6 separate regions of the Homo sapiens genome follow, and all the other regions are linked to region 1. The links are contacts of gene promoters, found by promoter capture Hi-C in blood cells and fetal thymus (Javierre and others, 2016). All regions are on one chromosome and are shown on one strand. The core of a region is centred on a gene start or on the middle of the fragment in contact, and the rest is flanking DNA. Distances in the headings are between cores, read along the strand shown. Region 1 holds the start of SEMA3D (semaphorin 3D). Region 2 has its middle 340 kb from the start of LINC00972. Region 3 has its middle 320 kb from the start of LINC00972. Region 4 has its middle 420 kb from the start of LINC00972. Region 5 has its middle 360 kb from the start of LINC00972. Region 6 has its middle 440 kb from the start of LINC00972.

Region 1 (4,953 bases), core at 218-2,717:
CCCGGACACCAGCGGCCCCAGCTGCTGGCGCGCGGCTCTCTTCCAGTCCCCTGGATCCCAAAGCTCCCTGCCACAGCGCGGCGTCTCCTCCTCCTGTCAACTTCCCTCCTTGCACTGTGACGGAGGCAAAGCAACTCAGCCCAGGAGGTTGAACTCGAGTCATCAGAGAAGGAGAAACAGTGCCGAAAACGGCCCGTGCGCTACCAGGGTAGCCCATTAACGCATTAACTCCAGGCTCGTTGGGCAGAAGCCGGGAGGAAACACCCTGGGGACCGCACTCCTGGTTAAATGCCCAGCACGAGTCAAATCCGGCCTTTCCAAAGCGAGCCAAGCCCACTACTACAAAGAGATCCCCCGAGTGTTTTGCCTTAACCACATTTCAGACAGCCAGCTTTGTGGCTGCTGTTTGACTCCAACTTTCCCTCTAAATCTAAAAGGATGCACACTTCCATCAGACGGAACGTCGCGATTCCCCGGCGAAGAAAAAGGCGTCGCCCATTCCTCTTCCAAAACGCTACAACAAAAACCACCACGCTTCCCTTCCTTCTTCCTTGCCCCTTTCCCTTCTCCCAGACCAACAAGGAAAGGAGCGAGCGAGGGCGCAGATGCCCTTTGGTCAAGTACTCCCCGGATGTTCCCGACTAAAGCGTCTCCAAATGAACCTGCAGCCTGCGGAAGCCGGGGACACATTCATAGACGCTCTCTGCTGCCCAGACCAGGAGGGGTGGTGGGGGAACCAGGAAGCCAGGGAGAGAGCAAAGTTCCTGGACGCGTCTCAGGAGGAAAACTTTGTGCAGTGCTGCCAGGCGGAGGCTCGTCAGAAGGCTCCGCAGCTGCTGAGGCGGGGTGGGACTGCGCCCCAGGGGCCGCGCTGAAGCTGGCGCCGCGATTACTGCGCACCGATTTCGCCCACTCTCTGTCCGCTCCCGGGAGCCTTCTCTGTCTCAGGACGGTTCCTTATCTCCCAAACCATGCTCGTCCTCCACTTCGGACCCACAGCCACCCCCAAATCCCGGCTATCCCCGCTTAGCACCGCGGTCTCCAGCACACCCTCCCACTGGAGTAGCAGGTGACCCAAACCAGACTTACCTGCTGTGAACTCTTCTCTCCCTCTCTCTTTTCCTGGTGCCTTTTCAGGGAGAGGGGAACGGGATGCAGGCTGAGGTCCAGCGGCGCGGCAACCCGGGGCACCGGCGCGCGTTCCTCTGAGCCGCAGCCCTGGCTGAGCAAGCGGAGCCGCCGGCAGCCCTGGCAGAGCCGGGAAGCTGCGGCCGCAGGGGCCAGGCCGGGAGGCAGGGGGCGCTGCTGCCTCCCCCGAGAGCCGCGCTAGGACAGGCGGAGAGCAAGGCACCAGCTGGAGCTTTGGGGAGGAGAGGGTGGCGAGGAAAGGCACGCTCCAAACAGGAGGGCGGCTTTTAAGTTTGTGGTGTGACCGCAGCAGCTGTCCTGGGAGAGACTCAGTCTTTCTAAAAAGAGGATGCTGAAAACGCCGGGGATTACCTTTCCCCTTCCGATCTCCTCCCCCAGCCCTCGCCCCCTCCTTCCACTGCGCACGCCAGAACTCCCAAGCGTGCAGAAGTTCATCCCTGCTGCGCGGAGGCTGCCAGCAGCGTGGATTTAGAGGTAGCCCTGGCCAAGCGCTGACGGATGTTTATCAGGACAGGGCACCCTATGTGTAAAGCAACCTCTAACGTCTGATCTTCCTTCTGGGTGACTTGGGGACTTCTTTAGTTCCTTCTCTATACCATAAAACCTGTTAAGGGACCCCATGAGGAAGAAACAGGGAGAGTGACCACAAACACCGTCCTAAAAATGCTAATCCCACAAAACAGTACCTGCGTTCCACTATGTAAAACCTCAATCCACGGTTAATGGCCTTGACAAGGCAGGCATAGGGATGAGGAACAGGGATCAACCCTCCGTTAAGGGGCTGGCACCCGATTAAGACCAAACAGGGAGAGATAAAAACGAGTAGAATGTAATCCTTTCTTCCTCTTTCCCTTACGCCAGACCTACAAAGAGGTGTGCCTCATATCCTTGTCTTCGGGAGTTTTTTAGATTTTTGCACCCCTTATTCACACAGTAGGAACTTAGAAGTATATAATGACGAGAAGATCTAAGTTTTGATGAACCTGGATCCTATGCAATTGGAATAGAGGATCCTCTTTAAGCAAAAGTAATGCAGAAATATCTCACTTCTACAGATTCTGCAAAAATATATGACAATGAGAGTTCATGAGGCCACCGTCAGGGACATTAAAAAGGCCTGTGCATTTGGTGAGCCCTGTACGTTAGGCATTTTTAGCTGCATGGTAAATCCTTTGTGATGGGATATCCAGGTTTATAGTCACACACCTTGCCCTTAGTCCCAAACATAAATCTGACATGAGGTAGAGACATGGAAAGCAAGCAGCCACGGGATCCTGCATTTGTCAGCTTGATTTAAGAGCACAAGGTGTAGGGTCCCAAAGCTTCCTTAGCAAGTAACAAGAGATATCTTGATTTGGAGATGGTGAACAGACAAATGCAGTAATGGAATAACTGAAAGGGGTGGAAGACATTCTTCATTTGACCTTTTATCTGTGGCAGAGGGCTGAGGGCCACAGAAGCTAAAGGAGTCATTTTAAGTTATAAATGGTTGATGGCAGAGTCAGGCTAAGGAAAGGCTCAGGTTTCTCAAATCTGACCAAGGCTCTTTCTTGTGTCTCATGCTGCCCCATCTCTATAACCTTGGTTTGGACTCACAACCAATCAACCCCATAAATACCCTCTTTGGATAGAGAAAAAAATTTTAAATCCTCGTAGACTATTTCAAACTATAGCAACTTTTATTTTTTTTCTGAATGCTTTATATTTAATGTTATACCACTCATTCTGTACATAGTCATGCAATTGTTTATTGTATGTTTCTATGTGTTTATATTATTTTCATTTGTATATGTCATTGCACTTCCATGCAAATTGCAATGTCATTGTGCAAATAAAATATCTCTTTTTTTCTCCCGTATATGGTGGGTTTATAGTAAGTAGTTTTTGATTTTTAGAAAATCTCTATTTTTAAACTTTTAAATAATTTTGTCAGTTTATTGGCCAGAATTTTGTGTTTAACTAGAATTGTGGTTAACTTTGGATTTCCCATTTTCCTCCTTTCTCTTTTAAGTTGTAGCTTAATATGCTTAAACCAAATGACACCTTCCTTTGCTACCATTCAATACTTTCCATAAAGCCCTTACAGAATTAATCACTCCCTCCTGTTTTCCCAAAGCACTTTGATTTCACTACTATAATAAGCTCTTTTCACTTTATATTATAATTAGTTATGCATGTGTCTGCATCCCATACAAAAGTGTTGGCTGTTTTGTGTCTTTGTTTCTTCAGCCTCTAATACAATGCCTGTGACATTGTATTGTACTGATTTAGTTTGAGATGCTCAGACTTCAAATTTAGACAGAATTTACCAGAGTATCCTGAACATATCATGAGAAAACAACATCTGGAACGTGAATTCTGTGCTTTCCTTCCTTTTAATGACTCTGAGCACAAAGCAGATGGAATCAACTGTTAATATGTTGCCCAATGTGATGAATGGCCTCAGCTGTGTCCATGGCTCCGTAATCTTCAGGCTGCTTCCCTGAATGTCTTGAATGTGTTAGGTGCTTAACAAATATTTGTGTGTTAAACGAGTTAATAAAAACAGTAGAAATAATGTTAATATTCAGTCACTGGATTTATTTCTGAATTTCTAATAACTGTATAGGGTCCCACCAAGATAGTTTTAACAACCCTTTCTAAGAGTTTGAGATCTACTTTCATCAAAAGCAATTTGGTATTCTGTCCTATAGGGCTAATACCCTATCTAAATTCTTAAAATAAAACCCAGTGGGAAAAAAAGTATATTTTACAAAAAGTTTTGCTAAAATACAAGGTGTATTGTGCAGTTTAGTTTGTCTTCAAGGGTGACTATTCAAGATTTAACGAGTGAGCCTTAATTTCACTGAAAGCGATGTGTATATCATCAGTTAAAACCACCTAATTGTTGCTTGTATGCCTGTTTCAGTCCAAGGGGAAAAATACAAACAAAAAGAAAAAGGAAAGAAAACAAATAACTTTCATGTTCTTGGAAACATTATTGAATAAATAAATTGTGTGCCTTGAGAATCTAGGCTATTCTGAGACATACTACTCCTCACCCATCTCTATTTGGGCTCACAAATATAATATGAGTAAGTAATTTTCATTTTATGGTAGTAATATGTGTTAGGCAATATGAAATACACTATTTCTCAAAGGATCACATTTAATGCCAAACAAATCCAAAGAATAAAATTCTAATTGTAGAATTTCAGTAATCATCCATCTATGTTGAGAGCCATGGGAGAAGGCAGCAGGGATGGGTTAGGGTAGAATAGACATATTGTAGGCTTCTCCAATTCCACATATAGCTACCTCTGAACAGAAGACAGGAGAAAGGTAATTACTGGGTCCAGAGCTTAAATCTAGCAGAAGATTTGGCTGTCCTCTCAGCAGAAGATACTAAAACCAACAAAATCTACAATCCTAGTTCTCTCTGAACAGTTTTATATTCACAAATCAAATGAAAATTTGGTGAATTTGAAAGAAAATTATTGATGAAGGAGACCTCAAAGTTTATACACAGAGGCAAACAAGAAAAATTGTGTTAAAAAGCATGTCATTTTAATGTTTACTTCTCTAAAACTAGTCATACCTTAGTCATTCAGAAAACCTCTCTGTCTTATAATAAATATCACCTTATAAACGTTTTCTCATATATCACCTTATCAGCACTGACTGATAAGAAATGTTGTTATCCTCATCCAAGAAAATCGGCGTGTATGTTAAGTTACATCTAGTTGGAACAAGTGAGTGCATGAGTTTAAAGCAGCTCACCCAGCCCCTTATCTTCTATTAGCTATTTTCTTCTTATAAACTCCA
Region 2 (4,749 bases), core at 1,945-4,444, 570 kb after region 1:
TGCAGGGACATGGATGTAGCTGGAAACCATCATTCTCAGCAAACGAACACAGGAACAGAAAACCAGACACCACATGTTGTTACTTATAAGTGGGAGTTGAACAATGAAAACACATGGACACAGGGTGGGGAACATCACACACTGGGGCCTGTTGGGGCATGGGGGGCTAGGGGATGGATAGCATTAGAAGAAATACCTAATGTAGATGACAGGTTGATGGGTGCAGCAAACCACCATGGCATGTGTATACCTATGTAACAAACCTGCATGTTCTGCACATGTATCCCATAACTCAAAATATGATAATAAAAAAAGAAAAAAAGTTAGAAAGATCTTAAATTAACAAACTAACATGACACCTAGAAGAACTAGAAAAACAGAGAAAGCCAACCTTAAAGCTAGCAGAAGACAAGAAATAAATGAAATCAGAGCTGAACTGAAGGAAATACAGACATGAAAAACTGCAAAATATCCACCTATGACAAACCCACAGTCAACATCTTACTGAATGGGCAAAATATGGTGGCATTCCACTTGAGAACTGGAACAAGACAAGGTTGCCCGCTCTTACCAGTCCTGTGCAACATAGACCTGGAAGTCCCAGATTGAGCAATCAGGCAAGAGAAAGAAATAAAAGGAATCAAAATAGGAAAAGAGGAAGTCAGACTATCTCTGTTTGCAGACAATAATACAAATAAATAAGATTTAATACACTAAACAATCCTGTGTTTTCTGAGGAAAATATTCTAGATCTGATTAACAACTTCAGAAAAATTTCAGGATACAAAATCAAGGTCCAAAAATTAGTTGCATTTCTATACACCAGCAGCATCCAAGTTGATTGCCAAATCAAGAACACAATCCCATTCAAAACAGACAGACAGACAGACAGACACACACACACACACACACACACACACACACACACACACATTTAGAAATACAGCTAACCAGGAAGATAAAAAATCTTTACAATGACAATTTTAAAATACTTCTCAAATAAATCAGAGATGACAAAAACAAATGGAAAAACATTCCATGCTCATGGATTTGAAGAATCAATATTGTTTAAATGGCCATGTCTAAAGCAATTTACAGATTCAATGCTATTTCTATCAAACTACCAATTACATTCTTCACAGAATTATAAAAAAAAGTATTCTGAAATTAAGAATGAAAAAGAGAACAAATAGCCAAAGTAATCCTAAGCAAAAAGAACAGAACTGGTAGCATCACATTACCTGAATTCAAAGTATGCTACAAGGTTACAGTAACAAAAACAGCAAAGTAGTGGTATAAAAACAGACACATAGAAAAATGGGATAGTATAGAGGGCCAACACATAAAGCTGCACATCTACAACCATTTGATATTTGACAAAATTGACAAGCCAAAGCGATAGGGAAAGGACTACCTTTTCAATAAATGGTGCTGTAATAACTGAACTGTCATATGCAGAATATTCAAACTAGACCCCTTCCTTACACCATACACAAAGGTCAAATCAAGATGGACTAAAAGCTTAAATGTAGAACTTAAAACTATAAAACCCTGGAAGAAAATCTACTAATTACCTGTCTGGACATAGGCCCTGGGAAACATTTCATGATGAAGACATTAAAAGCAACTGAAACAAAAACAAAAGTTGACAAATGGGACCCAACTAAACTAAAGATCTTCTGAACAGCAAAAGAAACTATCAACAGAGTAAACAGACAACCTACAAAATGGGAGAAAATATTTGCAAACTACTCATCTAACAAAGGTCTAATATTCAGAATCTATAAGGGACTTCAATGAATTAACAAGCAAAAGACAAACAATTCCATTAAAAAGTGGGCAAAGGACATAAACAGATACCTCTCTAAACAAGATATACACATGGCTGTAATGCATATGAAAAAATGCTCAACATCACTAGTCATTTAAGAAATGCAACTCAAAGCCACCATGCTTATTACCTGGGTAACAAAATAATCTGTTCATCAAACCCCAACAACACATAATTTATCTATATAACAAACCTTCACATGTACCCCTAAAACTAATCTAGAAGTTTTAAAAATAATTTAAAAATAAATAAAATGCAAAAAAAATCATAAATGATGTAAGTGGGAAAACATCCCATTCTCATGGATTGGAAGAAACAAGACTGTGAAAATGACCACACTGATCAAAGCAATCTGCAGACTCAATGCTATTCCTATCAGAATACAAATGTCGTTTTTCACAAAATTAGAAAAACAATCCTAAAATTCACACGTAACCAAAAAGGTATCCAAATAGCCAAAGCAGTTCTAAGCACAAAGAATAAATCAGGAGGCATCACATTGCCTGACTTCAAACTATACTACAAGGCTATATTATCCACAACAGCATGGTACTAGTATAAAAGTAGACACTCCAATGGAATAGAATAGAGATTCCACAAATAAAGCCAAATACTTACAACTAACTGATCTTTGCCCAAGCAGACAAAAACATACACTGGTGAAAGGACACCCTATTCAATTAAAAGGGCTAGGAAAATTGGATAGCTACATGAAAAAGAATAAAACTGGATCACTATCACTCACCATATACAAAAATTAACTCAAGATTGACTAAAGACTTAAATATAAGACTTAAAACCATAAAAATTCAAGCAGAAACCCTAGGAAAACTGTTCTGGACATTAACCTAGGAAATTATTTACAAATAAGACTGAAAAAGCAAATGCAACAAAAACAGAAACAAATAATTAGGACCTAATTAAACTAAAGGCTTCTTCAGAGTAAACAGACAACTTACAGAATGAGAGAAAATATTTGCATACTATACATTCAACAAAGAATGAACGTTCTGAATCTATAGAACCTATAGAAAGGGCCTGGAGAAACTACAGAACCTATAGGTTATAGGTTCTGTAAACCTATAGGTTAACCAGAATCTGTAGGTTATCAAGAATCTACAAGGAACTCAAACAAATCCTCAAGAAAAAAACAAATAATCCCATTTAAAAAATGGATGAGCAACATGAACAGACATTTCTCAAAAGAAAATATACAAAAGGCCAGCAAACATATGAAAAAATACTAAAAACCACTAATCATCAGGGAAATGCAAATTAAAGCCACAGTGATATACCACCTTACACCAGCCAGAATGGCAATTATTAAAAAGTTAAAAAAAAAAAAAGGTGTTGGCACAGATGTGGTAAAAAAGAAACGCTTCTTCACTGCTGGTGGGAATTTAAGTTAGTACAAACTCTATGGAAAACAGTATGGAGATTTCTCAAAAAACTGAAAGTAGATCTACCCATCGATCCAGCAATCCCACTATTGGGATTTCCTACTACTGTAGGAATTTCCTATGGATATCCATAGGAAAATAAGTCATTATATCAAAAACATATCTGCATTTGTATGTTTATTGCAGCACAATGCACAGTTGCAAAGATATGAAATCAACCTAAGCGCTCATCACCTGATGAGTGGATAACTAAAATGTGATATATATTTACCAAGGAATACTACTCAGCCATAGAAAAATAAAATACTGTATTTTGCAGCAACTTTGATGGAACTGGATGCCATTATCTTAAGTGAAGTAACTCAGGAACAGAAAACCACATGCAGCATACTCTCATATATAAGAGAGATCTGTGTGTATGCAAAGGTATACAGAGTGGTATAATGGACATTGGGGCCTCAGAAGTGGTGAGGGTGGGAGGTGGGTGAGGGATACAACATTGTCTATGGGTACAATGTACATTATTTGGGTGACAGGTGACATATATTGTTAAGTATATGTAACAATATACATGTATTGTTTCATCTGTATCCATATGTAATAATATAATTCCATGTAACAATGGAATTTTTACATATAGATATATAATTTCATTACTAAATTTTATACTCTACATTGTAAAGTAAAATTGCACTAAAATACTTAGGAAGAAGGAATTGCACAACTTTTATAAAGTCTAACAACTGATATAATAATTTTGAAAGTTAAAAATTACACATAAACAGAAGAAAAATAAAGTATTTAAATCCATGGTTAAAAAATATTTACAATGCCCTTTCAAGGATTCACCTTCTAAACATTTATTCTGTAGAGGCAGTTCCCACAAACCACTATGATGTAAGTCAAACTCCTGGTTTATTTAATAACTATGAGGCAGAAAAGAGGTAACCATCTGAGCAAGGTTTATTTTTGTCTAACTAATGGCTATATCATGATGAAAAAGTTGTATATGCTAAGTAATTTTCACTTGCTATATGTATTGCTTATACAGTATTATTAATCCCCTAATGAAGAAATATATAATAATATGACATAAAATTATATCAATCATATTGAACAAACTTAGTTTTTACACGATTTGCTATGTTTAACCAAAAATACCATCCATCCAAATGACTGTGAAGTTTCAAAGAGAAAAAGGACAAGAGTTGTGTTGATACAGTATTTAATTGGAGGCCTGTTTGGGGCTTATAGTGTTTACTTCTTAATCAGCAATTGGACTTGAAATTGTGGACTTGAATAAGAAATACTGGAACACAGCGACCTTAGTTGAAACCCTTTATTGGGTTGATGGTAGAAATGGGAATAAATCCTGTAGCCATATGAAAGACATGTAAGCCACAGAGGCAAAATATTGCCAGAAAATTCTAAAAGCAAATAAATCAGATTGTGTGCACGTAAGTAGAATTTCATAAGAGCAAAATTCATTTCTGTGGTTAGCCTGATTAGATTGAATGG
Region 3 (4,331 bases), core at 1,558-4,057, 550 kb after region 1:
TGGCCCTTCCCAATTGCCTGAGACACATGAGTACTTCCCCTGGGTAACATAAGCCAAGCACAAATCCAACAGCCACCACGACAGCTGGCTCTTTCCTGCAAGTGCCACTTTATGGCTAAAGGCCAACCAGCACAACCCATTACTGCATCTGCTGGCACAACAACACAGTATCCAGGAAGCCAAAAACTTTTGGACAACCTGTGCTAACACCATTGCCTACATCACCCTGGCTAATCAGAAGGTCTTGAGTCTGTCCATGTGCCCAGTACATTAATACTACAGCTGACATTTGAGAAAACCACCACAATAAAGCCATTTATAATGAAGAAAATCATAGAGTTAATATCATCACTCTGCCACCCCCATCGGAGCTAGTGCTTGCACTGACTGCGAGGAAACCAGAGGACAGGAAAACTTGATCCAGCTCCACCCAACATTGCCTCTCTCTGGAGCTAAGCGCAGAACCCAGCCACTGCACACCCTGCAAACCAGTCCACAACCTGAGGCAGCAGAGAGCTTCCCCAGTTGACTAACAAGAGATGCTAGTGACCAATTCTTCTCAGAAGGCAGAATCAAATTACTGGTGAATAATCAGAGTCCAAATGAATTGGTAAAGGGAGAGTGCTAGACTCTATAGGAAAGTTCACTGGAAGAATCTACAACAAACACATATACAAAGGAAGTAACAAGCTCACAGGGATCGAACAGAAATCAAACCCTGAAAAACTTAGCAATCCATGGAAAGGATAGGTGAGAGTGCTCTTGACCTCTCTAGCTCTTGCAGTAGACTACTGATATATGAGCTCAAGGAGAGCTTCTTTGCTTTTGTGAGCAGAATTACAGTGGGCTATAATTTGGGGACTTTCTGAGGGCATTACCTTTGTTTACACAATGCTTTTTCCCTTTCCCTCTGAATCTAAGCTGTAATAGCATATACCATACTGAATGCACTCTCACTGAGGGACCTTGTTCTATTTAAGGACATTCAACCCTTGTACCTTAATAACATTGGATCCCTTGTAGATATTCCCCAGCACCACCTGGAATGTGGAAGCCCTACCAGGCACCTAGACTCAGAAGAGCAGCAGCATTCACAGTAGTCTGGCCCTCAGGGACCACCATTCCTAGGAGAAGTGGGAGTGCACCACATCAAGGGAGCACCCTGTGGCACAAAAGAAACCAGAGTACAGGACTTGAGTCCCAGAACTTTCTGCTTGTGGGAAGTTTCTTTCAGCAGAGTCACAAGTGTAGTGCTGGTCTCGGTGAGGAAGGACTGCAGTTCTACGCAGTAGTTGGGCAGCCCAAATACTCATGAAGAAATTTGGAGGAGACTTTATCTCCTCCTTACCACCACTGCGTACACAGCTGCGGTTTCTCCCACAGGAACTCGGCATGGGTCCGCCCATACGTAGCCTTTCCGGAGCACTTAGAGGTGACTGCATCCCCACAACATGAGTGCCCTCCAAGCTCAGGCTTGTATGAGGAGTACAGTAACAATCTCGCTCTACAAGGAACATCAGCATTCCTGAATCTGGAAAGAGGCACCTATCTGATATGAATAGCCAGAACAATGAGACAAGTGCATAATGTGGAGGCAGACAGCTTTCTTACTGTTCTGAAAGAGGAGAGGAGGTGGCTTTCTCCCTTCCCCTCAAAAAGACCTGAATGTATTTCAATGAGTGCTCCCCCAACCACCACTGTCAAGGCTGTGAACTTTTCCCACCATTGAGGTATTGAATATATCCACCTACTTCAGCCACAACAAAATTTTAGCCTTGGCCACCTCCTACTAAACCATGGACCGGTTTCCAGTTTAGTTTTCACCAGGTTGATGCCAAACTCGTTAACCCGGTGAAAACTAAACTAGAAAAAAATTTTAAAAGTGTACACCACTGGGAGATAAGATAAGCTTCATGATACCTCTGCCTTTCCAGCCCCACAAGAGACAGTGAGCCTGTTCACACACCAAGGACATTGTTAATACAACCAGCATCAGAGAAAGCCATCACAAAATGATTATCTATAACCAAGGAATTAATACAGAGTCTCTACCATGGAAAGCATTCAGAGCCAAAGCTAGGTCAACATAAACTGTACATTAAAGTCACATCTTCAAAGGAAAAAATATTTTTAAAGAAACCCAGTCAAATCAAAAATAAAGTTAAAAAAATAAGAAATAGTCTACTCAAATAAGAAGTAACCAGCAATATGAAAAATCAGCAATATGAAAAATCAGAACTTCTGGAAATGAAAGATACATTTTGGGGATTACAAAATATAGTGGAAAATTTTAACAGTACAGTAAACCAAGTAGAAGAAATAATTCCAAAGCTTGAAGACAAGGCTTTCAGATTAACCTGATCAGACTAAAATAAAGAGAAAAGAATTAAAAGAAGTGAACAAAGTGTACAAAAAATGTGAGACTATGTAAAATGTCCAAACCTAAGAATCATAGGTCTTCCTGAAGGAGAAGATAAAGCAAAATGTCTGCACAACCTATTTCAGAAAATAAGAAAAAGTTATTTGGTCTTGCTAGAAATTCAGACATGCAAATACAAGAAACTCAAAGAACTCCGAGGAAATTCATTGCACAAATGACATCACCAAAGCATATATCATCAGGTTATCTAAAGTCAATGTGAAGGAATGAATTATAAGAGCAGTGAGGAAAACCACCAGATAACTTACAAAAGAAGCTCAGTTGGAAGTAAATGCTCAGTGCCGCAAAATGAAACCTGCCCTCAGGCAAAAGTTCTTTTTCAGAAAGGCAATTTACTTCTGCAGAATGGTGCTGCCTGTGTCAATCATGATAACAAGAGCACACTGAACAAAGGAGGGAAGGGGTTTTTATTTCTGAGGTGTAGTTCCTACATCTGTGTTACTCCCCCATGGGCTGGTGTTAAACCGCACAGTCTAAGCTGACCCAATTGGCTATTTGCGAATATTTTACCCAAATAAGGAAGTGGGAAAGGGAAAGTGAGTTACAGTGGTTGGATGTGCAGTTTTGGTGGGAGGAATGGGTACAGAGTGAATAACCAAGGTAACAGATGTGAGTTATTGATTAGCACTGATGAGAAGGTTGTTTATAGTAACTAGGGGCAAGGAGGCACGGAGAACAAGAAAGTTAGGTTTGAGAACAAAGAACAAGGAATTAACAGGATGAACCTTTGAAGAGGAATTTTATTGTATCCTAGAATTCCCCCCTTCTAATTTTTATAGTTCTTCCTCTTCAAACCTTTTTAACATATCTTTGCTTTGTTGTTCAACTTGATCCTCTAAAAGGAAAAGCTTATCTGAATAAGGTGGAGGAGAACTAAGAGAAGTTTTAGTAAGTGCCATTTCTACAAGCCTTTGTACTAGCCCATGGGTGTATGGTATAATACAACACCCAACAAGAATGAGTACACCTATTATGACTTCAAGAGAAGTGAGAATTGAAGCCGCTATTCCTTTCCATTACCGAACCATTTTTCTAGTCATCCTGAAAAAGGGTAATCGACTCCAGAATTTCTAGCTAGTTCATTGGATAAAGTGGTAAGTCCTTGTGAAGGCTTTGTTATGTTTTCATCAGGGGCAGTATTGTTTGGGATGAAGGTACAACACTGAGTTTTAGTCATAACTCAAACTCCACATTTTCAGCTAACATCATTTCTAGGGCTACTGTGTTTTCCCAAGCCATTTGGCTAACAGGCCCTAATTGCTTGGCTATTACTTTGACAGCATCTCTAGTGTAATTAATAAATCACTGTTGGTTATAATAGATTTAATTTATCTGGTCTATATTTTTATTAATAGTTACCCATGGAAATACTGATTCAAATCCTACAGCTATTTGGTCTCAGGCTTTGAGTTTATTAGGTACTCCCTGTGGGACTTCAATTACATCCAAATAAACTTCAGAGTCAAAAGACCCATAGGGGCTTTTCTTATTTTACAGTGTTGTGATTTTTCTTTATCTGGCTAATGAAATATCAGGGTGAAAGGGATAGTCAATTGGACAAGAACGCAAGTGCCGCTCCAGTTACTTCACAGAGTATCCAGTAAGGGTCTACCATAATACCACCATACATCCACTTGAGGACGTCTAACGGTAGACTGATAGGTAAGCTCTTAGAAGGGCTTAAGCTCATTACATCTCATTAAGTTTTCAAGGAACGCCAAGTTCTCCCCTTGTCATGAGAGACATGAGGTGAAATTGACGTTGGGAGATGGAAGCTGGATGGCCCTCGGGGGCCGATCCGCAGGGTGTTGGACTTCGGGATATAGCAGAGAGAGAGCTTGGCATGATTTATTGTCCCAAGCCATAGAATCCTGTGGGAGAGCTTTCATGC
Region 4 (4,406 bases), core at 1,844-4,343, 650 kb after region 1:
AAGAGCTGGATTACAGGCGTGAGCCACTGCGCCCGGGCGTATAGTTGTTTTTAACCAAGAAGGCACTTCAGAAGCATGTGGGTAGTGTTTTACAACATATACTATACTATACACATTATATCGTAGGATATATATATTTAATTAATAGACCTGGGATAATGATAGATAGTTGGTTAAGAACCACTAATTAAATTATGTATGTTTATTTTATTGATAGGAAAGTTCAGAAAACAAATTGGCTTCTTGGTATGTATAGCAGCTGGAGTTAAACTAAATTTTCTAACCTGATTATTGGATATTTATTTATGCTTCACATTATTTTGCATTCTCATTGATTTAATTATTAAAATCATATCACAGTAAAGGTAAAGATACTGTCTTGATTAAAAGAATATGTTAATATAACTGGAAGTTATCATTTTTATTATTTGGGGCGATTACAAATCTTGTCTTTCCCCAGCCCCCTTTCTAATCCCATATGTTCAGTTTTATTGAAGCTAATCAAATGCTTTCCAGACTTGTTCGGTTTCCTCATTTAGTTTGAGTTCCCTTTCTCCTCACATCAGGGTTCATATTTCTTCTCTCGATCTTTCTACTCTTTATCCTTTCCTTCTCCTCTTTTCACTCCTCCTCCTTTTGGTTCTTCTTCATTACCTATTTTGTGTCTTTTGGTTTCCATTTACTTTTGTTTCTTGCCTTTTCAAATAAAAGCCTGACAACAACAACTTGTTTAGTTTTAACCAGTGGACAAATAGAACACTGGATATAATGGAGGCCTTTACTCCTCTCTTCTGTTTTATTTACTTTCTTCTCTTTAAAGAAGGACTCTTTGTGGCCTTTGTTCCTCCTACACTTTCCTCTTTCATTTATACATTTGGAGCTTTTCAGTTACGGGAAGCATATAGACTTCTAGATAGTTGATTTAGCCACATTTTATTGTAATACCTTCCAGGTAACTAAGATGATATATGGAAACATAGAAAGGCATTTTTATATTTTAAACTAATTTTAATATTTCTTATAGTTAAATATACTTTATTTTACTCTCAATATTCCTGAATTGACATATGGCTGCTTTTTATTTTGCATACATTTCTGATTACCATACCTTTGTTTTACTTCTTGCTTTTTTTCATTTGGATGTGTAAGGAAACATAATCATTGCATATATACCATATCGGGAAACGACTTAGCAAATTAATTTTCATTTTATTGCTTTTTCTCATCAGCAACATTAACAGAAGAAAAACTAATTTATAGACATAAGTGTATTTTCATATTTTGATGGAATAACTACAAATACATTCAAGCAAAATAAAAAGTCAATTTTTAAAAGGGGGTTCAGTGAGATGTTTTCCTGGGGTGGTTTCTCATTTCTAATTATTTATTGCCAACAATTGAAAATACCTAAGTCCATTTTGATTTAGGACTTTACATCTATCCTGTTCATTTACAAGAACTCTGTAGCTAAGATTACAAAAGATAAAATTCTAATGTTCATTTAAGCACGTAATAGCTTTTTAAATGGTTATATATTTGAAAAGACATTTGGATCCCATTAAAAATGAAATTGAAGCTATGAAAATTGAAAGAAAGAAAAAACTAATCCATTGGATAAGTGTTTTCTTAAGTGCTTTTAACTCCACCCAATTCAGATAATACTGTGTGTCCAAGGTTTCCTTTAAAAGATTTGAATTATAAAAAACAGAACTTAAGTTTAATATCTCTTTCATAATTTTATTTTTCCCACTTCATGTCTTTGGTTATATTTAGCTTTTACTAATTAAAAAAATCCATATTTTTTTTAAATGAAACAACAATAACCCAGTGGCAGAATTGAAGAATGGTCACTTTTCCGGGCTCTGACTGTAAATAGATTTTCCAAATAACCCCAAATACCTCATTAGTGACAAATACCACATTTTTTACCTGAGAATATCACGGGTAAACTACTCAATTTCCCTACCCCTCATGGAACACCAAACAAAAGTGTGATTTAATTTACCATTATATGAAATGCAAAACTTATCCTCTGAATTTTAAGTATATGTAATTTATTACTAATCTAGTTGTTAATGTTTCAAGGCTACTAATGAATTGTGATTATATATATGTATATATATATGTATATATCACATTTTTTATTGGAGTAACTAATATGGTCACAGAGAGAAATATTTTTCCCTCATTTGTCTTTTTCAATTTTCAAAGAATAACTGAATCTATGAGCTGGAGGGAGTGTTTGTTAGAAAGAGCTAACTCAGCTTTGTCACTAGTGTGGCTGCTTTTGTTATAGTAACTCTTCCATCCATGGCCTGAACTGTTCCTGTGATATCAAACATACATTTCCCAGAAAAGCTTATTTCCATATTAGAATCTGCTATTTTCATAAAATTATTTCTATATTAAGCTGAAATATATTTAAAATATTAGCTCCATTATTCCTAGGTTGTTTATTTGGAGTTTTATTTGGATATAATAAGTTGAATCCCTCATTATATTTGTTGAAGATAAATATCTGTCCTCATTAAGTCCTCTAATATTTACATATAACATTGCCAACTTCTTCAAGTTTATGTAACAGTGAATAGAATTTTTATCATTTAGAATCTTTAACTGATTATTATATTGCAAATATTCATTTAAGTACAAGATAAAAGATACTGCTGTTTCCATAGTTTTGTACAGCATGAAATTTAAAATCTCATTTCTCCTGACTGTATATATTTACCATAATGCATCAAACTGTATATTTAAAATAAATAAATGTTATCATATGTATATCATGCATCAGTAAATTTTATAAATACACACACACACGTGTACATGAATCTCTCTCTCTCTGTCTATAGTGATAGCTCCTGTTCCATTCCACCTTTTCCATTATTATTATTTTCTTTCATTGTTTTCATAAGCTATCTAGAAAATAGGCTAAAATAAAACTGAATTTCTCATCCACTTGATGAATATAGTGATGTTCAAGGCAGAAAAAAAGGATTAGAATAATAAAATAGTAAAGGTTGAAATATACAGATAATCTGAAATGCAGGAAAATACTTATTTTCAAGTGTTCATAGACTAGCTACAAATATTAAACATGATTTAGCATAAGAATAAAATATCTATAAATTTAAAAGGAAACACAATAATAATAAAGTTTACTTTTTAATTAAAAGAAAAGCCTAACATTTTAAAATAAATAAGCATGTTTTGAAACTCTCCTAGTTTACCGCTGGGTAAAAAAGGAATAAAAACTAGAATTCCTGATTATTTTAGAATTGTACGCATCAAAAACTACAAGGTATAGATAAAGCTCATACCAGAAGAAATTTTTTGCCTTAGTTCATCATTAATTTAAAAATAATAAAATAAACTAAGTGTTAATAAAATAATATGAAAATTAAAAACAAGAAAGCAGGCTTATTGAATGACAAAACAAGCAAAAAATAATAAATTACAAAACATGAAAAGAATAAACTTAGAGAACAAATCTTAGATTTGTTTTATTTTGTGTGTGAGTATAATACCATAACATAGAATTAATGTTTTAGAGTAATTACTACATGCCAAATGAGGAGTACTATGCCAAATAGTATGCATATCTGTCACTTACAACAATATAATAATTTCTGTCCTTTGCTTATATGTACTTTTTAAAAAATTTTAGTACGTATGTATGTTTTTTATGTGGGTTTATTGCATAATGGTATGGATTAGGCTTCTAGTGTACCCATCACCCAAATGTTGAACATTGTATCAGATAGGTAATTTTTATTCTCTGCAACTCAACATAAATTATTTCATTCATCACTAATCTTCCTGTTTCAGAAAGCTTAATCTTGTGTTTTCAGTAAAATTATAGTCAAATTCAGGGATCTTTAGAGATACCTAAATAAGGTAAGCTTGCTAAAGTATAAGCTTCAAGAGGTTCAGGGTCTTTATTTTGTGCCAGTACATGTCAGAGAGTAGATACTGAATACATAATTGTTGGAAAAAACTTAACATTGAAAATTCAGAAGAATTCAAGATTGAGTCTCCATTTCTCTCCTTACTGCCAGAAATGTGTTGTCCGTGTCTCAGTGTTTGTGTCTCAGTTTAATACAGCCGTATTATGCAACATAATTTACCTCATCTATTTCTCCAGTTCTCGCACGACACATTCATGATTTGAAATGTAAACACATTACTGCCTTATCCTGGCAGGATGTTCCACCCTGTATCTATGCTACGGATTTGCTTTATGTCAACTCCAAAACCCCTTACACACTCATTGGCCTCTTTCTCTTTCAACTAATTTACATGCTGTCCGTGAAGCAGAGATAAAATATTCAGTCCCCTCAAAGTGTGCTGAACACACAGCTTTTTTCAGACTTATCTCCTGGTTAAGGCAGCATAGTAGTGAAGAC
Region 5 (4,594 bases), core at 1,729-4,228, 590 kb after region 1:
GAAAAATATTTACATAAACATGCATCAATAAATATGCATATGGAAATAGGCCCATGATTATTTGTTAAATTGTTACATAGAAAAAAATTTAACACAATGTTTGATTGATAATGTGTTAAAAATACAATTATCTGTTCATAAAACACATTTTGCACGAATCCACAATAGACTGTTAAAGTTCTTTCTGAAGTTTGTGGTGCTTTGGACCTCTTACTTTTTAATTTACAATCTTCCCATATGGTTTGGAATCTTTGTATAAGAATACATGATGTTTATAATGAAAATAACTGTGGTTTTTATGAATTTCAAAAATTGAGTTTTGTACACTAAATGTGCTTAATTACTCTATTGTTTTTAAAACTGAGTTGTATAAAAATTACATCTTGATAAAAAATAGAAAATTGCTTACACTAAGCTCATGATTTTTGATGGAGTAGAGTTTACAAAATTGGAAAAGTAGTAAATTAAGAATGAGAAATGAAGTTTTCTGGCTTCAATTCTTGTTTTAAATCCATGCTTCATTATTTACCACTTATGTGTCAACTATGTCAGTATGCTCCCAAAAGCTTGATTTTTTACCTTTTAAAATTTAGTAAGATAATTGTCCTCTATGTTGTAATTTTATATGATTAAATAGAGGAAAGCATGAAAAAGTGCTTTGTAATTTATTTTTGAAGTGGTTCTTATCTATTTTATTTAGGATATACTGAACTTCACTACCTTTATGCTACTGCAGTAAGAGACAAAATAAGGCTAAATTTTATTAATAATTACCTGAGTCAGCTGGCTCTAGCCTATGCCTTTCAGTGTAAGACTTAAAACTCTCTTCAAAATTATTTTCACTTACTTTGTAGATGTTTCCTGTGTCCCATGGACAAGTTTTCTCAAACCCTGTGGCCTCTGGTGCTTCTACTAATCAGCAAGAAATTCCCTAAACATAAAACCAAGAAAAGGATCTTTCTGTGTGCTAAGTCACCTCCAGTCTGCTGTTAAATGTTGCCCTTGGTTAAATGTTGCCCTAGTAGTGCCCAGTAGCTCACCAGGAATCCCTGGATGTGTCCAGCCACTCTTGATGGCATTGCTACTACCAGGTTCCCGGATGCTATCATGGTTGTTGCCTCATGAAAGGGAAATAATCGTTTTCAAGAAGACTCTTGGGTGACAATAGTTACATTAGATTTTGTTTTCTTTTTGTTTTGTTTTATTTTCTAACAAATTTTCTCCAAAGGCACTGAGACACAAATCACTGGAGATAAACTGGAGAAATATGTTTTGTCTTCACACTTTGGGCAAAGCTAGTCCTCTCTTCCAAAACTTCCAGAACTTTCATTATCAATAGTGTTTCTCGGTTCTCTCGAATTATGATATATCCTGGTAGACCATGTAGATTGTCATAAATAAGGTCCTATAAGAGGCTTATAAACATGTTGGACATATTGACTACTTGTGGCAAATAGCTCATTATAAAAAGGATTTGCACTTTTTTTGTTTGTTTTTTGTTTGTTTGTTTTTGAGACGGAGTCTCACCCTTGTCGCCCAGGCTGGAGTGCAGTGGCACGATCTTGGCTCACTGCAATGTCTGCCTCCCAGGTTCAAAATATTCTTATGCCTTATAGCTGGGATTACAGGCCACCACACCTGGCTAAATTTTGTATTTTTAGTAGCGACGGGGGTTTCATCATTGTTGGCCAGGCTGGGATTTGCACATTCTTAATGTCCACACCTTATCTACACATATACAAGTATAATATACTTCTATATAAAATATCTTTCTGCTTTTTCAAAGAATAAAAGAGAAAAAGAAACTTTGAGAGTATTTGAAAATGCATTCCTAAATTCCTACCAGGTTTTGTAACCCCACAAATTCTGTTTTCTCATAATAGCTGTTCTGTATACCTCTCACAAAGTTATCTGAAAGTTCAAATGAAATAACAAATGTGAAAAATGCTATTTGTTAACAATGGTGGAAAACATAAAGTAGATAAAAAACCCATAGCACCAAAATGCTGTATCTACAATTATGTCTCTACAATTCATGCTGACAGCACAAACCAAGATATGAAGATCACTGTTCACAAAGAATAGCTTTACACCTCTATTCAAAATATATTACATCATGGCAAAAGGCTAGAGACTTAGCATTAGGTCTTTAAACAACAGAAGGATCAAGAACAAAAATGTATTCCACGCCAATTATGAATGTATTGGGTAATATTAATTAATCCATGCATTGAACAAGATAGCTTTTGAGTACAATATGCCAAGGCATTATTTCATACACATGGTAATTAATCTTTCTGAACTCGAGATCCATCTTAAAAATATGAAGGGAAATGATTTAGTCTGGTTCAGAAGTGGGCTGTATTCTGAGTTCTAACTTCTCTAAGAAATAGGCATTTGGGAGAACATACTAAAAACAGAGCCATCTCTGTATAAAGAAAATACTTCCATTTAGAAGGTACTGAAAATAAGCATATGGTATTAACAGCATTTTGAAGATAATTTTTTTAAACTGAGAACTCTATTTTAGAGGTTTACATGATTTTTAATGAAATACCAAAACTCATGCATCCCACAAATCTCCAATTCCTGGAATTTTTTTCGTAATACAATTTGAGAAGATAATAAAACATTTGACTGCCTAATTTCCTGGGGAATATAAAGATATATTTGTTTTCCATAGATTTTCAATCAGAAAACCACTTACCACACCACCAAGATGAATCACACAGACTATTTCATTTGGCAGTTAGTTATATCTTCTTTAATTTTAAAAAATTGCTTGCCAAGGTTGGGTGTAAATTATGATAAACACTATGTCTGTCTACTCCTTCGGGGTTGTGTCATCGTTTTGGTTGAATTCTATTAGCTACACTTTGCACTCGGTAGTTGTTATGTCTGAAGACACACAAGTATGCTTTGGCTCCCCAGTATATATTTTCTTCAAAACTATCATGCAAATGATGAAAGAAATACTATTTTGAGATTCTATAGTTTACTATGTACCACATGGTCTGTTTCAAAAGATCACAGAAATCATTCTTGCAACAGATAATCTACAGAGGAAATGTGCAGGTTTTAGGTCAGTGCTTTCTGTCATTGTTTCACTCTGAGACTTAACTAGATTCAAGTGTTTAGTGAAATTTGCAAAAAGAAACAGGCTCATACTATTTGATGCCCATAGGGGAAAGAGCCTTGTCTAAAATTAGCTTTTTAAAACAGATGCATCCATAGACACAAATTAAAAGAATCATTTTAAAAAGAGTGATTGAATGGAAAATTCAGGCTCTGTTTGCCAAAGCTAAAAAGCACTGTTTAGTCATGAAAATAGCTTGAATTTCCATGTAAATTTATTATTTTCAAAATATTTCATAAACGCTATCTCATTTAATCCTTAACAATCACTTCCACATGTAACTAGGGTATGTGCAACAATAATATAAATAATAAAATGAGAACAATCAATATTCTTTCTATGTGCCAGTCTCCTTTCTGCACGCCTAAAAATAAATTTTATCATTAAATAAATTTAATAATTAATTTAATTACTCTTTGAGTTACTCTGTGAGTTAGGTACTATTTATATCACCATAAAAAAGTGAAGAAAAGGGAGATTAAATAACTTGTCCAAGAAAACAAAACTAGTAAGTGGAGGAGCCAGACATTCTACTAATGTCACCTCAATGATAGGCCAGCTAGGCTAGACTCGTTTAGTTATTTTGACAAGTATATATATATTTTTGGATATATTTTTAAGATTAAAGAAAGAAAAAGATACTTCAGAGACTTTCATCTACTGATTAAACTGAGAATAAATCAACAACATTTTAGTCTAATGTGCTTTCATCTCTAGTAATGATCACTCTTCAATTTTCTAATTTAGTTTTTTAATTGACAGATATAATTGTATATATTTACCATGTAGAACATATTCTTCTGGAGTAAGACACATTGTGGGGAATAAATAAATCTAGCCAGTTAACATATGTATTACCTCACAGTTATCTTTTTTGTGGAGAAAAAAAACCTTACATCCATTCTTTTAGGGTTTTTCAAGAATACAATATATTGTTTAATATAGTTACCAAGTTATACAATAGACCTCTTAAACCTCTTTCTCCTATCTGAAATTTTGAATCCTTTGAGCAAGATATACCAGCCTCCCTTCCCTAACCATTTCAGCCCCTGATAACAAACGTGAGATAAACTTTGTTAGGTTCTACATATGAATAAAATCATTTGATAGTTGTCTTTCTGTGCCTAATTTATTTCACTTAACATAGCATTCTTCAGGTCCGTTCATATTGTCCCATATTACAAAATTACCTTCTGTTTTAGGGCTGAATAGTGTATATATACCAGATTTTTTTTATCCATCCATTCATTTATTGATGGACATTTAGGTCGATTCCATATCATGGCAGTTGTGAGTAATGCTATAATAAACAAAGGAATGCAGATATCTCTTTGACATACTCATTTCATTTGCTTTGCACATGTATTCAGTAGTGGAATGGCTGGATCATGTGGAAGATTTATTGTTAATTTTTTAAGGAACCTCCATTCTGTTGCCATAATGGCTGCACCACATTAT
Region 6 (4,427 bases), core at 430-2,929, 670 kb after region 1:
CTGGCCATTACTTCTGGTGTTATGCTGATTAAAAGCGGGCATCCTTTCCTTCTTCCTAATCTTAGAGGAAAAAATTGCAGTTTTTCACCATTGAGTATAATATTACCTGCAGGTTTTTCATATGTGGCCTTTTTATGTTGGGGTAAATTCCTTCTATACCTAATTTATTAAGAGCTTTTATTATGAAAAGATATTGAACCTTATCATATGACCTTTCTGCATCAATTGAGATGATAAACTGTTTTTTGTTCGTTTGTTCTGTTAATGTGGGATATTACATGAATTTATTTTTGTAAGTTGAACCAGTCTTGCATTCTATGGATAAATCCTACTTGGTCATAATATATGATGCTTTAAATGTGCTGATAAATTCAATTTGCTAGTATTTTGCTGAAGGTTTGTACAGTTTTGTAAGTATTTTCTTGAGGAAATTTGGCCTGTAGTTTTTTTTTTTTTTTTCTTGTAGTGTGTTTGGCTGGCTTAGATATAAGAGTAATACTGGCTCATAAATTAGTTTGGAAGTATGTTTCCTATTCTTCAATTTTTAAAAAGGCGTACAGAGGGATTCGTGTTAGTTCTTCTTTAATATGTGATAGAATCAACCAGTGAAGTCATTGAGTCCTGAGCTTTTTCTGTTATCACTGGGAGATTGATTCAGTCCTTCTCTTTATTATAGGTCTGTTCACAATTTCTGTTTCCATGATTCAGTCTAGCTAGGTTGTATATGTCTAGGGAATTTATTCATTTTTTAGGTTATTCAATTTTTTGGCTATCATGGCTCATGGTAGTCTCTTTTGGTGCTCTTTATTTCTGTAGCATCAGTCATAACATCTCCCTTTTCATTTATGATTTTATTACTTAAGTTTTTAATATTTTTATCATAGTTACTGTAGCTAAGGGCTTATCCATTTTAATATATATTTTCAAAAAACTCTTAGTTTTACAGATTTTTCTATTTTTTACTTATCTATTTCATTTATTTTGGCTGTAATCTTTATTTCTTCCCTGCTGTTAAACTTGGCCTTCATTGGTTCTTGTGATTTTAGTTCCTTGAGTTGTAAGGTTAAGTTGTTCACTTAACATCTTTCTTTATTCTTAATGTAGAATTTATAACCATAATTGTCCCTCAATACTGCTTTTGTTGCATCACATAGGATTGGTGTGTTGGGTTTTCATTTTTGCATATATCAAGCTATTTTCTAATTTCCCTTCTGATTTCTTCTTTGATCTATTGGTTGTTTAAGAGTGTGTTGTTTAATTGGTGCATATTTGTACATTTTCTAGTTTTTTTCTGCTATAGATTTCTAGTTTTATTCCATTGTGGTAGGACAAAGATACATGCTATGATTTCAATCTTTTTACATTTTTAAGACTTGCTTTGTATGCTAACATATGATCTATCCTAGAGAATGTTTCATGCACACATGAAAAGAACATGTATTCTGATATTCCTGGGTAGAATGTCTTACATATGTCTATTAGGTTCATTGTTTATAATTTTGTTCAAGTTCTCTGTTTCCTTATTGTACTTTTGTTGTATTTGTACTTGTATTTACGAAGTAACTAGTTTGCTATTGATTTTACAAGCTCATAAGCGGAAGGTATTTGCCTTGTCTCAGAGACTTTGTACTGTAGACTTTTGAATTAATGCTGAAATGAGTTAAAATTTTTAGGGGACTGTTGGGAAGGCTTGATTGGTTTTGAAATGTGAGGACATGTGATTTGGGAGGTCCAGGGGTGAAATTATATGGTTTGGCTGTGTCCCCACCCAAACCTCATCTTGAATTGTACTCCCATCATTCTTATGTGTTGTGGGAGGAATCTGGTGGGAGATAATTGAATCATGGGGGCAATGTCCCCATACTGTTCTTGTGGTAGTGAGTTAAGTCTCACCAGATCTGATGGTTTTATAAGGGGTTTCTGCTTTCTCTTCTTCTTCATTCTCTTCTCTTGTCTGCCACCATGTGAGACGTGATTTTTACCTTTCACCATGATTGTGAGGCCTCCTCAGCCAGGTGGAACTGTGGGTTATTGATTAAACTTCTTTCTTTTGTAAATTGCCTGGTCTCAGGTATGTCTTTATCAGCAGCTTGAAAATAGACTAATACAAAGGGAGAGATATAACTTGCCAATGTCTTTGAAAGAAATTGGGATTTTGAAGTAACCTCCCCAACTCACATTATTGATATGAAGAGATCTGATGTTTCTCTAATATTGAGTCTTCCCATATGTGTGTGTGTGCATGTGTACACAAAATAAAATAATCTCTGTCTTTTATTAGTCAGCCTTTTAAAAACTCTGTGATAACTATGTAAATTCCAAGCAGAACTTGAAATTGAGCTAATCATGAAAAAGAGAAAAACAGTATATATGTATGAGTGATATCTAGTACATTCACCTATAAAAACCTAAGTTTACTATCAATCACAGCAATATCCTTTACTTATGTGCTTAATGCTATAAGGTAAAATATAAATATAATGTATCTATATTTACTAATATCAAGGGCAATCTAAATAAAACTTTGGGAACAATCCTGAATCTTCTCTTCGATTGAAAACTAGAGTATTTTATGTGTTTACCAAATTGTAGTAAAATTTTGCTGAACAATTTTAGTAGAAAAAAAAAGCATTACTACTATTTCTGTGACTAGTGAAAATTTCTGAACCTGTTAGCCTTAGCAAGATTTGAAATAATTTCAGAGTATCAACAATTTATTATGTAACTATTTCCACCCAATTTCTTGTTATTCCTACAATATTATTAATTTAAAATTAAAATATATTAGAGATGGTGAGAACTTCAAAATACTGGGTAGGATGGTGTACAAGGTGATGAATCAATATTAAAAGTATTGAAGAAATAATTTGAGAGGAATCAGTTATATTTCCTTATTTCAACAATTTTCCCCATTGAATTTGCAGTCCTATAGCTAAATAGCAGCATGTATGCAGAAATTACGCCTTCTTGATTGTTACATAGTAAAAGAGCACGATATTAACATTATTATTTAATTACAAATACATTAATATGTATGGATTATTTTATTTACCTTTAATTTCTAATTTTTCCTTTTAGATTTTTTTCACTGAAGCACCAAAATGGATTTTAAACAAACAAAAACGACGTTACTTTTCCTCTTTATTGTGTAAATAAACACGTTAATAGAAAACCACTTCAACATAAATTTGGTACACAAAATGCCAAAATTTACACATGAATTATTATGTTTTCCATCATGCAACAGTGTATTTATGGAGAATACTGATATGTTAGCCTCAAAATAAATGATTAAAGATAGGAAATGAATAACAGAAGTGTCAGACATTACCCACTAATTTCAAAATTCACTAAATTTAAGAAAAAGGACTGCCAGAAACAATTGATTCAGAATGACAGAAAACAATGAGATATCATACATTAATGAGTTATTATAGGTTCTTAGAGAAGAGCAGTATTAAAAATACAGATAAAAATTGCTTTTTATTACCCCTCGTCAAAAAAAGAAAACCAAAAAGCAAAAAATTAAATTGTAGAAAAGACACTTAGAATACCTAACTGGAATAAGGGTTGGAGATTTGTAGGTTGACTGCACAGTTTTATAAATGAAGTATCAAAAATGTAATTAAGTTTTACAAAGATAGAACAATGTCTAAAGTTCATACTTTTGAAATAAACCATCATGACAATTTTGTCCTTTACTAGTTATACTTGTATTTGTATGTATTTCATATTTTAAGGGTAGGATTTTTTTTAGACATTTTAGAGAACACAAAATAGAATAGAAAAAGGTAAAAATATAAGTTTGGGATTAAAATATTTTTTCTGTCTAAGAAGAACATTCTTTTAATATATTTATTTAGTTCTTCATTTCTAGAATAATTTCTGGTATATTCAAGAAAATAAACTGTTTTGCATAATTTTATATGGTATCACTTTTTAAAAATTTTATTATTATTATACTTTAAGTTTTAGGGTACATGTGCACAACGTGCAGGTTTGTTACGTATGTATACATGTGCCATGTTGGTGTGCTGCACCCATTAACTTGTCATTTAGCATTAGGTATATCTCCTAATGCTATCCCTCCTCCCGCCCACCACCCCACAATAGTCCCCAGTGTGTGATGTTTCCCTTCCTGTGTCCATGTGGTCTCATTGATTTTTACCAAATATGCTCCAAAATTTTTAATAGAGTAATATGGTGATATGCATTTATTTGTACTTCTTATTTTCTTTTCTTAAACTATTATTTAAATGATTAATTATTCACATTTTCCTGTGATTGTCCTTAATTTATACAAATAGTTTTCCATATCATGTAGCAATTTTGCATTTAGGAAATGTCTCTTAAATACTTAATGACTTACTTAAGGAAAAATAAACACCTTTATATTTTATAGAGAGGAAGTACAGTGGTTCCAAGCA

Evidence for each region. Contacts are between HindIII fragments. The CHiCAGO score rates a contact against its expected background, and 5 or more counts as called.
Region 2: a fragment that was not itself captured here is called in contact with the fragment with the promoter of SEMA3D in region 1 in 5 of 17 cell types (megakaryocytes, M0 macrophages, M2 macrophages and 2 more); the score reaches 9.4 in megakaryocytes.
Region 3: a fragment that was not itself captured here is called in contact with the fragment with the promoter of SEMA3D in region 1 in 1 of 17 cell types (megakaryocytes); the score reaches 9.8 in megakaryocytes.
Region 4: a contact is called between a fragment that was not itself captured here and the fragment with the promoter of SEMA3D in region 1, in 2 of 17 cell types (megakaryocytes and erythroblasts). The highest score is 7.9, in megakaryocytes.
Region 5: a fragment that was not itself captured here is called in contact with the fragment with the promoter of SEMA3D in region 1 in 1 of 17 cell types (megakaryocytes); the score reaches 5.2 in megakaryocytes.
Region 6: a fragment that was not itself captured here is called in contact with the fragment with the promoter of SEMA3D in region 1 in 1 of 17 cell types (megakaryocytes); the score reaches 5.8 in megakaryocytes.

What each region holds. Positions count from the first base shown.
Region 1 is chr7:85,185,589-85,190,541 of GRCh38, forward strand. SEMA3D (semaphorin 3D) reads right to left here and starts at 1,468. Exons shown (of 19, transcript NM_001384900.1): 1 at 1,090-1,468. RefSeq lists a silencer at 1,280-1,339. The HindIII fragment of the contact is 2,551 bases long and covers 1-2,469 here.
Region 2 is chr7:85,756,957-85,761,705 of GRCh38, forward strand. No RefSeq gene overlaps it. Among named protein-coding and RNA genes, the nearest start is that of LINC00972, 340 kb to the left of the region's middle. The HindIII fragment of the contact is 3,351 bases long and covers 1,520-4,749 here.
Region 3 is chr7:85,734,887-85,739,217 of GRCh38, forward strand. No RefSeq gene overlaps it. Among named protein-coding and RNA genes, the nearest start is that of LINC00972, 320 kb to the left of the region's middle. The HindIII fragment of the contact is 957 bases long and covers 2,330-3,286 here.
Region 4 is chr7:85,836,558-85,840,963 of GRCh38, forward strand. No RefSeq gene overlaps it. Among named protein-coding and RNA genes, the nearest start is that of LINC00972, 420 kb to the left of the region's middle. The HindIII fragment of the contact is 1,474 bases long and covers 2,357-3,830 here.
Region 5 is chr7:85,779,004-85,783,597 of GRCh38, forward strand. No RefSeq gene overlaps it. Among named protein-coding and RNA genes, the nearest start is that of LINC00972, 360 kb to the left of the region's middle. The HindIII fragment of the contact is 4,828 bases long and covers 565-4,594 here.
Region 6 is chr7:85,855,711-85,860,137 of GRCh38, forward strand. No RefSeq gene overlaps it. Among named protein-coding and RNA genes, the nearest start is that of LINC00972, 440 kb to the left of the region's middle. The HindIII fragment of the contact is 8,193 bases long and covers 1-4,427 here.